Regions from separate parts of the Homo sapiens genome. Here regions 1, 2 and 4 are each linked to region 3. The links are contacts of gene promoters, found by promoter capture Hi-C in blood cells and fetal thymus (Javierre and others, 2016). All regions are on one chromosome and are shown on one strand. Each heading gives the region's core, a stretch centred on a gene start or on the middle of the fragment in contact. The rest is flanking DNA. Distances are from core to core; before and after follow the strand shown. Region 1 overlaps DESI2 (desumoylating isopeptidase 2). Region 2 overlaps COX20 (cytochrome c oxidase assembly factor COX20). Region 3 holds the start of FH (fumarate hydratase). Region 4 overlaps HNRNPU (heterogeneous nuclear ribonucleoprotein U).

Evidence for each region. Contacts are between HindIII fragments. The CHiCAGO score rates a contact against its expected background, and 5 or more counts as called.
Region 1: a fragment that was not itself captured here is called in contact with the fragment with the promoter of FH in region 3 in 3 of 17 cell types (total CD4 T cells, non-activated CD4 T cells and fetal thymus); the score reaches 8.9 in total CD4 T cells.
Region 2: a fragment that was not itself captured here is called in contact with the fragment with the promoter of FH in region 3 in 1 of 17 cell types (total CD4 T cells); the score reaches 5.0 in total CD4 T cells.
Region 4: a contact is called between a fragment that was not itself captured here and the fragment with the promoter of FH in region 3, in 2 of 17 cell types (total CD4 T cells and total CD8 T cells). The highest score is 8.3, in total CD4 T cells.

The regions. Positions count from the first base shown.
Region 1 is chr1:244,656,030-244,659,259 of GRCh38, reverse strand. All of the region lies in intron 1 of DESI2 (desumoylating isopeptidase 2), which reads right to left. Among named protein-coding and RNA genes, the nearest start is that of DESI2, 4.5 kb to the right of the region's middle. The HindIII fragment of the contact is 7,268 bases long and covers 1-3,230 here.
Region 2 is chr1:244,836,303-244,839,269 of GRCh38, reverse strand. The region is part of intron 1 of COX20 (cytochrome c oxidase assembly factor COX20); the gene reads right to left. Among named protein-coding and RNA genes, the nearest start is that of COX20, 2.1 kb to the right of the region's middle. The HindIII fragment of the contact is 1,385 bases long and covers 934-2,318 here.
Region 3 is chr1:241,518,220-241,521,193 of GRCh38, reverse strand. FH (fumarate hydratase) reads left to right here and starts at 1,439. Exons shown (of 10, transcript NM_000143.4): 1 at 1,439-1,603. The coding sequence starts at 1,472. RefSeq lists silencers at 1,325-1,454, 1,277-1,559, 1,735-2,004 and an enhancer at 1,065-1,661. The HindIII fragment of the contact is 3,380 bases long and covers 1-2,423 here.
Region 4 is chr1:244,857,712-244,860,211 of GRCh38, reverse strand. HNRNPU (heterogeneous nuclear ribonucleoprotein U) reads left to right here. Exons shown (of 14, transcript NM_031844.3): 5 at 838-937; 6 at 1,371-1,483; 7 at 1,938-2,201; 8 at 2,495-2,500. Among named protein-coding and RNA genes, the nearest start is that of SNORA100, 4.7 kb to the right of the region's middle. The HindIII fragment of the contact is 609 bases long and covers 946-1,554 here.

The DNA of each region.
Region 1 (3,230 bases), core at 705-3,204, 3.1 Mb before region 3:
CAAATGTACATATGTATGGAAACTGAATTCTTTTCTCATACATACTAGCTTCCCCCACCCCCTTCCCCCCTAAAAAAGAAAAGAGGACAATGCCATAAATAATGTAGGAGGGCAGATGTACAACTGTCCTTTTGCTTAGCTAGACTCATGGGTCACTATTTGCCCAAGAAGCATATTGATACAAGTAAATTAAGGTAAATTCCTTACCGTTTAAAAAAAAAAAAAAAGATGGATGACCAGCTCCTATTATTCCTATTAACTAGTTAATTTATGTTAAAATTCAGGAACTGACAATGTTTTCGGAAAGATTATCTTCCAAAGAGTAATTAAGATCCAATTTCAAGAAATAAACTTATTAAAAACATTTCCTCAGTCTAGTCCCATAGTATTTTAAGTTTTGTCAAAGAAAACTATTTGATTTTTTTCTGTCCCATTCCTATAATCCTCCCCTCCCCTTCATCTGGACACCCTAGTCCAACAATCAAAGCTAAAATCTAGCAATGCACTTAAGCAAAGGTACAAGAAAAAAACACCAGAAATAGGCATTTGGCACAAAGAGGAAGATCACATGATCTTTTCATGCCATTTAAGTTACTGGCAACTCTCCTAATAAAAACCAGCTAAAGCCCCACTCATTGAGCGGATATTTCTAGAACACCATCTAGTGACAGGCCCTGTTCTAGACACTGGTCATAGTATGGCGCTATCGGAGAACTCACAGTCTGGTGGGATGCACGGGATAGTATACGCAGTAATGGAGACAGGCACGAAGCACAACTAGGGCATAGGAGTTCACTCAAGTCTCAGGAATAAAGACTAAGCTACAGCCAGAAGGAGCAAGCAGGAGGTTGCAGGTGATCAATGCTGGACAATGCCACTCCAGACAGAAGGATGGGCATGCATAAAGATATGGGGATGTGATATAGCCTGTTTGGACAGCTAAAAAATTTCACTGTGTGAGAATAAAGACTGTTATATAGAAGAGGGAAATGGACCTTTAACTGTCAGCCAGGGGCCACATCATAAAGTGCATTACACTTTATCCTGGTTATGTTTCAGAAAGGTTACTTTGGTAACAGAATGGAGGAAGGATTAAAATGAAGTAATACTAGAGACTGAAACTCGTAAGGAGGCTATTATATGAATAGAGATGAGGGCCTGAACTTGAGAAGCATTAGTGGAAATGGGGATAAAGTAACCGATTTAAATAATATCCAGAAAGTAAAATATGTGACAGACATCATAGGTTCCCATCAAACTGCCATTTCCAACTTTTTGCCTTCCTCACCCACAACTCACCATAAAGGTTAGAAACACCAGATATCCACTTACTCAGCTTCATCACAGTTGCACACGAGCCAATTCTAGATAATCTCTTCGGGGAAGGAGTGGGGCTCTGGTAAGTTTTTCCTTTCTATTAAAAGAACAGAGGTGCATGTAGAAAATGACCCTATCTTCTTCCATCTTCCTTCACATACTGCTGACTGAGGATACTATTTGGTGCTTATGGCAGTTACTTTACAATTATGAGAGGACGAACCAAGGGCAACAGCCAACGTGCTGAGGATGGTAGAGTAAAAGGATGGAAAGTCCTGGTTCTTGATGGCACAGCTGAGCTGCTGAACTAATCCAGGGCCTGTTTATCTCTGGACTTAAGTATCCTTCCAGCTTAAGCCACTGACTCTCAAGCTCTCTGTTGCTTTCAGACAGAATCAACCAAACTAAAACAAAGAGACAGGGCCAGCTGACTGACTGTGAAGGGTTTATAATAAAGAAGAATTTAAGTTTACTCCCAGGTTTCCGGTTTGGGAAACTACAACAAAAGTGGTGGCTTTTTGGGCAGTGGCATGGGGCAAGAGGAAGAATGTGCGCTGTGGACAGGAGGAAAGGGAAGAAGTTTGTTCCTGGACATGTTGATTTGAGATACGAAGGAACCATTTAGGTGGGATGTGTGATTCTGGAACTTGTTCAAAAAGTCTGAATTAGATCTGCAGATGTATGAGAAATCGGATCTATCACACCTGCCTGACCTGACACCCTGTTGGAGGAGTCTAATGGAGACAGGCGTCAAAAGAACGGAGTCCAGACAAAAATGTCCTTATTTGAAGTGTCCTAGAAAGTGGTTCTTTTCTATTCTTTAAAGACTTTGAAGATGTATAGGTACTACTTTATAATAAAATTGGTACTGGCTGGGCACAGTGGCTCATGCCTATAATCCCAGAACTTTGGGACGCTGAGGCGGGCGGATCACTTGAGGACAGGAATTTGAGAAAAGCCTAGCCAACATGGTGAAACCCACCTCTACAAAAATACAAAAATTAGCCGGGCATGATGGCAGGTGCCTGTAATCCCAGCTACTTGGCAGGCTGAGGCGGGAGAATCACTTGAACTGGGGAGGCAGAGGTTGCTGTGAGCCGAGATCGCACCACTGCACTCCAGCCTGGGTGACAGAGTGAGAAAACAAATAAATAAAATAAATAAATAAAACTGGTAGAAACTTGTTAACACAATGAATTTGCAAACATTATCAAATACCTGCATATTTTTATTTTATAAAAATTCATTAGTCAAGATAACCTGAAAAGCACAAAATCTGGATCTATGAAAAATGAAGACTTAAAATGACTACACCAGAGATTTGTCTCAGTATTTGAAACTAATCTGAGTCACCTGCTTTGCTATGTGTGCCAGTCAATTAGGAATACGTGAACAAGCTCATTCCCACGACTCAGAAAGTAGCTCCAGGACGTTTTTATTGGTGGTAGATTACTCCAAAGTACACAGAGGAACATAATCACTGATAAGGCAGCAAGCAATAGGAACACTATGCATAATTAAGTAACCTTCTGAGGATCACACTCTTCTTCCATGAGAAGGAAGTTAATACTGGTGACCCCCAATAGAATTATTTTCATGCATACGGCAGAGTTATGGAAGAAAAGAAATGATCCGCAGCAGCCCAATCTAGAAAATAGAAAAATACAATCAGAACTGGAACGGGTGACAATCTAACAAAGAGACACAAGGACACATGGCAAGAGGTCCCTATAACCATGATTATAAGGGCATCCCTAAGGTTGATTTTCATATTTACAGAGTTGGAACCAGACAGCTGATGTACTAGGCCTATACAGACAACAGCAACCCTCATCCAAAGCATCTCTGATGAATAGGAAGAATTACCAAAGATAAAAGGAATTTACCCTTGGCATCAAACAAAAATATTTCAA
Region 2 (2,967 bases), core at 377-2,876, 3.3 Mb before region 3:
GTGCCCGTATTTCTTTCCTCTGGTTGCAAAGGATGAATTGGCCCTATTCCTATCTAATGCTAGTCTTCCCACTTGGGCACTTGATTCCCCTCTTGCATACTCAAGGGCTTGGCTTCTATAGCTACCCCTTTCATTTGCATCGTTAGTTTTTTCACTTGCAATAATTTACTATCAGCCCTCTTGGCCAGGTGCAGTGGCTCACCCGTCATCCCAGCACTTTGGGAGGCCAAAGTGGGTGGATCACTTGAGGTCGGAAGTTCGAGACCAGCCTGGCCAACATGGCAAAACCCTGTCTCTACTAAAAGTACAAAAATTAGCCAGGAATGGTAGCACATGCCTGTAATCCCAGCTACTCGGGAGGCTGAGGCAGAATCGCTTGAGCCCAGGAGGCGGAGGTTGCAGTGAGCCAAGATGGCACCACTGCACTCCAGCCTGGGCAACAGAGCAAGAAGACTCCATCTCAAAAAAAAAACCCAAAAATCCTCTATACACCCCTCTCCTCTCATCAGCCACCTAAACCACCATCCTTTTGGGGCAAAACTTCTGAGTGTAGGTGTGCTTTTCTACTTAAAACCTCCCATTCTCCCTTTAACTCACTTGAGTGAGGCATCTATCCACTGAACTTCACTTGACACCAGTCAAGACCTCTAAAAGACATCCACTGCAGTCTAAATCCGCATCTCAGCATATGTGGCACAAATTATCATTTGTTTTTGAAACTTTTTTACTTTTACTTGGCTTCAAATACGTCTCCTGGTTTTCTATTTCATTGACATTTTTGTTGCTGTTCCCTCCTCTACAGACCTGATTCTGAAGTGCCACTCTTAACTCCTTTGGAATCTAGTCTCTTCCTAGGTATCCCAAGGCTTTCAATTAAATGCCATTATATGATGACTCCAGATTTCTAAATCAAACCCTAATCTCTCCCAAGCTTCAGCCTCATTCATCTGCTTAATGAATGACACTTTTATGTATAAAAAGCACCTTGAACCTCGTATTTGCAAAATATATTTTCACCTCCAAACCTTCCTCTTAATGGCACACTACTCAACCAATTTTCAGACCCAAAAACTAAGAGTCATCCTTGATTCCTTCATCAAATCCACATCAAATATATTAGCAAGTCTGGAAGGATCCACATTCTAAATACATCCTGAGCCAGACCACTGCCCACCAACTTCATTGCTAATACAGGTTGAGCATCCCAAATCTGAAACTGATACATCAAAAGACAATTTTTTTTTTGAATTGGGAAGCTCAACCTGTCCTATCAAATTACCATCTATCAACAGTACCTTTCAGATCTTGATTCTACTCATAAAAATGTGTATCAGATGACTATAATAAGTCCTCTGTAGCCTCCGATTATGCTCAGAATCCTTACCATTGCTCCAAAGGCCCTACATGATCCCATGCTCTTTCATATCCTACTCTTGTCCACTAGTCCAGGTACAGTGGCCTTGCCATTCTAACAAGCCGAGATGGTTATTACCGAACGAACACATGCTGCCTTTCTCCTGGATCTTTGCATGACTGGCTCAGTAGAAGTCTTGCTTATTGATTCCTCCAGTAGAATGTCAGCTCCTTAAAGGGATTTTTCCTGTCTTGATCAGTCTAGTACCTCGTTCAGTGTCTAATACTCAGTAGGTACTCTAAATATTTTTTGAATGGGTGAATTAAGAATTTACCTGAATGTGAATTTACCTGTATGTACCAAATTTCACATTTTAAAGTTTCTTAAAGGACAAGAATGTGGCAGAGGACAGTTTTTAGGGGCTAGTTCTATCAAGGTATGCCAGCTTGGTAACTCCCATTTTTACTTTAGGTTTGCTAATTCTTATAATAAAATAATCCTCCCTGGGTTGTGCTGGAATGATCACTGACAAATTCTTTTAAAAAAAATAACCGCAGGCTTCCTTTCTGACAGCACCTTGGGCTGTTAATTCATCATAGCTTCTATTAATTTAATTAGCTTTTTGATGGGCTCTGATAGGTACTACTGTTTCATGAGCAATTTTTGTTTTTTTGGCCTCCCACCTCTGACTGTGCTCGGTTTGAGGCTTATAACTATCTTCATTTCAACAACTACAGTATTGTTTTGCTACTTACTGATGGGCCAGTTAAATAGGTCAATGTTGATCCTCTTTTAAGTTTTTTTTTTTTAATTTCCAATGGATTAAACCACCTTTATGACCTTTAAAAACAGCAGTTATCTCCTACCAAAAGTCCCATTCAGGATTCCAGTGTTTATCACAAAACTGAATCTAGGATTTACTGTGTGTATGCAAAGATCTTTTTTTTTTTTTAAACACTAAGCTTATTCCAGATGGGCAGTGTATGGGACAGTAAAAACAGATAAGGCACCAGTAGTACGTAAACTGACAACCTGTTGGATATTAAGTATGAAAACAATTTATACAATATTTGTTAATATTAACCATATGATCTGATGTCATGGCCAAATTTGGATGGAAGCCCACCAGAGAAGCAAGCAAGAGCAAGAAGTGAGCAGAATTTCCAAGCTGGGAGAATATCTTAAGTATATATTAGGAGCCATTTAGCACACAGTGGGTCTTCTATAAATATTTGCTCGTGATTAGCCAATGTTACGATCTCCCTAGTTTATATTAAACTTTTTTCCTCTTGCATTATTCTTTTCTGAATACCTGTTCTGCCCTGAGGATATAAATTAGGTTCCCTGCTCTTAATAAGGAGCCCAGGAAAAGAGGAAAACAAGATCATTTATTACCTTCCAATATGATAAATGTAACGACGTACAAGATGCCTGGGAAGATGGGGAAAGTACGTAAGTCAGCTTTGGTGAAACACAGGAGCCCTTCCAGGGAGAGCGCTTGGTTTAGCTTTACTATACCAAGAATTTGGGTTTTATCCTTAAAGAGATAGGATGGGCTGCTACGACTGGATGTTAGGCAGAGGAATGAAAACTGTCCAGTTTACAGGCTGGAA
Region 3 (2,974 bases), core at 190-2,689:
AAAAGTTTAAAAGGACAAGCAACAATAACAATAAAGAGGGGCACCACACAATGAAGAAAGAGATGATCTATGAAGAAATGATAAACATATGTTCATTAAATAATTTTGTGTAATAGCAAAGAAAAATGTTCTTTATTAAGAAACTGGATAAATAAAATATTTCATATTCATGTGATCCAATATGATTAATTTTAAAAGATCATGGCTATATCTTAAAAGCATAGAGTTCAATTATGCAACAGTAAAACTTTAAAGTAAAATATTAAAACCATTGTTTGTATATTAGTGTATGAAGCAAAAAATACACAGAACTGAAAGGATGCATCAAAATAATGATATACACAATAATGATACCTGCTGGGAAGGAGGAGAACAAAAACAAAACGTCATTCCATTATTAGCAATGTTTTAAAGAATTTGCATTCAGTTTTCTAGTGTGTTTTGATTGTAGTTCAACTATTACAATCTCATTTGAATTTTTATATTTTAAATATGTGTCAAATTTATAAGTCACAAAATAACATAATGTTACCAAAAGGTTTGGCAAGTTTGTAAGTTTGACTCATAAATTTGGCTTTGCAGGTTCTGGACTTTTGATTTTAAGAACATCCGATCGCTCTCTCTTTACTGTCATCTGGTTCCAAGCAATAGAAAAGAGAAAAGATAAAACTGTGGTTCAGATGCAATTTTATATCAATTCCTGCTTTTCTGTAATCAACTATTATATTAAAACAATATGCCTTTAATTTGAAAATGTATAAATTAGCTATGCAAAAAACTGGGAGAACGATATACAAATAATAAAAATTCCGAGGTTCCCTATAATTGTGTACGTCTTCCACAATACATTAAAAAAAAAAAAAGAGTTCTGAGGGTATAGGCTAAGAAGAGAAAGGAAACGGTAGCGATCTCAAAATGATAAGTTAAAAGAAATAAGTAAGTAGCTTATTTTTCAGTTGTGGGATTATGAATAATTACTATTTCATTATCTACACTTTGCTGCACTTCCCAAAATTTCTACACAGAAGATACAATCTGGAAGAAATGAAGAAAGATTTCAGTAGTAAGAACGTGTAATGAGTGATTACATGATAAATAAAACAATAAATATTTCTTTCTAGGATATTTCACCAACCAAACACGACCTGATTCACCAACTAATACTCCCGCCTTCTAACAGCCACACGTAAAAATCAGACCGGCTCCAAGAATAACCTGAGCCTCCTTTCCCATAATTCCCTTCTTTCTAGTTTCCCATGAATCCGAAGGCCTTACACCCCACACTACTACTAGAAAGTTAACCCGCCCCCTCATTCTTTACTGGTCATTCACGATTGGTCCTGCCCCACCTGTCGGTGTGAGGCTGTTGATTGGATAAGAGCGGAGGCCGGTGGGCGGAACGGTTTCTGACAACCGGCGTGGAGGCGTGGCCACAGCCGCCCAGAAATTCTACCCAAGCTCCCTCAGCACCATGTACCGAGCACTTCGGCTCCTCGCGCGCTCGCGTCCCCTCGTGCGGGCTCCAGCCGCAGCCTTAGCTTCGGCTCCCGGCTTGGGTGGCGCGGCCGTGCCCTCGTTTTGGCCTCCGAACGCGGCTCGAATGGTGAGCGCAGGCCGCCATCCCCCGGCCTCCCCGCAGTGACCTTCAGCCCTCCTGCCTGCCGGCCTGGGCGCCCGCGACTTGGCGGGAGAGATTCCCCGGGCGTCCGGGCCGCGCCAGACTCTGGGCTTAGCGCCCGTGCCGGCGTGGCGGGCCTCCCGGCCTCGGGACGCCTCTTCCGGCGCAGGGATGGAGCCGCAGCCCGGGAGAGCGCTTGGGGAGGGACGGGGGCTGTCAGAGAGGGTCCTACTGGGCCCGCTCCCGGCGCCTCCTCGGAGCCGTCCGTGGCGGGCCGAGGCCGGGGCGTTTTGAGGTAACTTCGCTGCTGCTGGCGCGCAGGCCCCCAGCCCCGGGGCGCTGCCCTCAAGGACAGTGCCGGCGTGGGCGGAGGGTGCTGGGAGAGGGGCAGCTCCCGCACCGTCCTGCCCCATAGCTGGGCCTTGCTGGCCGGACACTGGCCGCCTGTGCATCTAGTGGTTTCTGAACTGTGGTTTGTTTCGCCAAGGGGCACTGCACTGCTTTCAGGCCCTCCAGGTGGGGTAGAAGGTTCTTCGAAGATTTTACTTCCTTTGAAATTGCATGCTCAGTTTGTTAGGCTGACTATGGTTTCCCCCGTAATTGTTGTAAAACTCTTCAATTCCGAATACCGCGGGCATAGTGTTCTGAAGCATGTTTGAGCAGATTGGCTAGGAGCTGAATCGGTACTTTTTATTCAGAAAGCCAGCTAAGAACTTAAAGATCCAAGTTCAGGTTATGACATGCTTACGTAAGTCATTTTGCTCTTTAGAGTGTCATCTTTAGGAATGCAGGCTTTTAAAAAGCTTTAAATACATATGTATATTGTTAGGAAACGTTTGAGAAATGATAGTTGAAGAGTTACAGTTCTGCACTGGTGTAGCATGAGGTTTGCAATCTAAGAGATGTGATTTCAAATCCGTATGCAAAGTTGAAATACTTACAGCTACTCAGCAAAACTGCACATGTGAAAATACCATGTAGCGAGTGCTCATTAAATAAGTGCCCCATCTAGGGTATTTCAAAGGGCCAGTACTTTTTCTGGACTCTAAACTTCAAGATAATTTGATTGGGTCACTATACCTACGATATACAACTATACTACAGAATCAGAGATGTTTTGTATTCCTCGAACTCCCTGCTCGAATAATTTTAGGGCATTTTAAAACCTTTACATATTTTTAAATTTATTTATTGTTTATTTAGTGTTTTGTAAAGGGAAGCAGACTGGAGAACTTCTGAATCTATCCTGTTGATGCAAATGTCAAAAAATAGCAGCACTACTTTGCTCTTAGAATTGTAATGTTAGCTAAAATCAGATGGAGGTAGTTTTTGTTTTTTCTAGTTCTGGTACTTTTT
Region 4 (2,500 bases), core at 1-2,500, 3.3 Mb before region 3:
CTCCTTGCTTCAGTCTCTCAAGTAGCTCGGACTAGAGGCACACACTACCACACCTGGCTAATTTTTGTATTTTTAATAGAGATGGGGTTTCACCACGTAGGCCAGGCTGGTCGCCAACTCTTGACCTCAGGTGATCCACTGTCTCGGCGTCCCAAAGTGCTGGGATTACAGGCATGAGCCACTGTGCCCAGCCTTTTTTTTTCCTTTTTAAAATAGTGACAAGGTCTCACCATGTTGCCCAGGCTGGTCTTGAACTCCTAAGCTCAAGTGATCTGCCCGCCTGAGCCTCTCAGAATGCTGGAATTACAGGTGCTTCATACTGCTAAGTTATCAAAGGTACTTATTTTTGAAGCTTCCTGTAAATTAAAAGAGGAGCTTGGAACCTTCATTTTGTTGTGACAGTTAATCACGGTTGTTATGTTAGAACTTGCCATGCAGAGCTAGGCGATTTTTTATTTAGGGTACTTCATTTTTATCAAGCATTTGAAAGGGCCACCAAAGAGTTAAAAATAAAATTTGGTTACATTACTGCTTTTGTTGGTGAGAAAAACATTAATTGTATCCTTTAATTGGCTTTAAGTTAAAGACTGACAACATGAACTTTAAAAATATTAAGTATTCTTTTAAATATGGGTCAAATAAGTATTTAACTCTTTAAATTTCAAGTTATAAGCACATCAGTTTAAAGTTCTTACAAATATTGGGGGTGGGCTAGAGTGTGCCTTCTTTGTATTTATAGCTAGAGGAAGATTAGCCCGTGGCGCAATGAAATATGCGAGAGTTAAGGGGTTACCTCCTTGGTGTATTATTTTAATTATTTAATGATTTGACTTTCAGGTTACAGAGAAGATCCCAGTAAGGCATTTATATACAAAAGATATTGACATACATGAAGTTCGTATTGGCTGGTCACTAACTACAAGTGGAATGTTACTTGGTAAAGCTTCTTTTTGACTGATGTGGGCTCATGAATGTTCAGGAGGGTCTGATTTCAGTGTTTTTTAACTAGAGGGCATTCTAAGCCTTTTGTCTGTTTTTATCTATTCTGTTAATACTTCAGACAGGTAATATTAGCACATAGTAGGCACAGGCTACATTTTAGTTTTTGTTCCTTTATTAGAAGTTTATGACCAATGGTTGAAATAAAATCTTACCCGTGATATGCAAATCGTCAACTAATTTGGTCTCTGCGTATATATCCCTCCTAACTTCCATCAATTCTGGTACAGAGATAGAAAAGTAATAGTGTCAGTGACAGGTGATTAGGTTATATGCTTATTTCTCTTGTAGCCTACATCTTAAGTAGTAAAATAGATGAGTCTTTGGACTATTTTAAACATCTACTTCATGAAGATTAATTATTTTCTTAGGTGAAGAAGAATTTTCTTATGGGTATTCTCTAAAAGGAATAAAAACATGCAACTGTGAGACTGAAGATTATGGAGAAAAGTTTGATGAAAATGATGTGATTACATGTTTTGCTGTAAGTTAAAGCTAACTTTCTATGTATAAATGGCAAAGTTAGTAGCTATATCTAGGAACTTTAAAGAAGCTTTACTGAGGTCAGTTTTCAATATGAGCAACAAAATACACCAGTCCCTGGATTAGTGTAAAGACTTCATTCAGCAGTTGAATTGGGAAAACACAGGACATTTTTGAGGAACTCACTAATTCATTTTGACTGAAAACAGTGAACATGAAATTGACCTAGAAAATTCAGTCTAGCTTCTAGGTCAGTATTGTTTCTGGTTCTGGAGATACGTGCTTCATGGTTTACAACCATCAGATTTCTTAACTGTGTAGCCCTTAAAGGCCACCTAATAGTTCTTTAACCTGTAGCTTCCACAGGATAAGCTTTGCTCCTAATTTTAATTCTTAGTTTTTTAGAAAGTTTAAGGAAGCAGATTTTAACTGTTGAATTTTTTTCTGTGTAACAGAACTTTGAAAGTGATGAAGTAGAACTCTCGTATGCTAAGAATGGACAAGATCTTGGCGTTGCCTTCAAAATCAGTAAGGAAGTTCTTGCTGGACGGCCACTGTTCCCGCATGTTCTCTGCCACAACTGTGCAGTTGAATTTAATTTTGGTCAGAAGGAAAAGCCATATTTTCCAATACCTGAAGAGTATACTTTCATCCAGAACGTCCCCTTAGAGGATCGAGTTAGAGGACCAAAGGGGCCTGAAGAGAAGAAAGATTGTGAAGTAAGGGATTTTTTTTTTTTTAACTGTGGCATTTGAATATTGCTTGCCTGGCACAAAATGACATTTAGAAGAACTAGATGATTAGTCTGTTTCATTTACTTTGTGCTGTGCATATTGCTCTTAAGTAATTGTTTCCCCCTTATGTTGACTGTTAATCTTTCCATAAACAAATTTTTGTCCGTTAGTGTAAGGGCTATGAAAACTTAGATATTTAAATTGGCCTTAACAATATTTAAAGAATTATTAGGTGGTGTCTACTGACAGTGAAATGACATTTCTTTTCTTTTCACTAGGTTGTG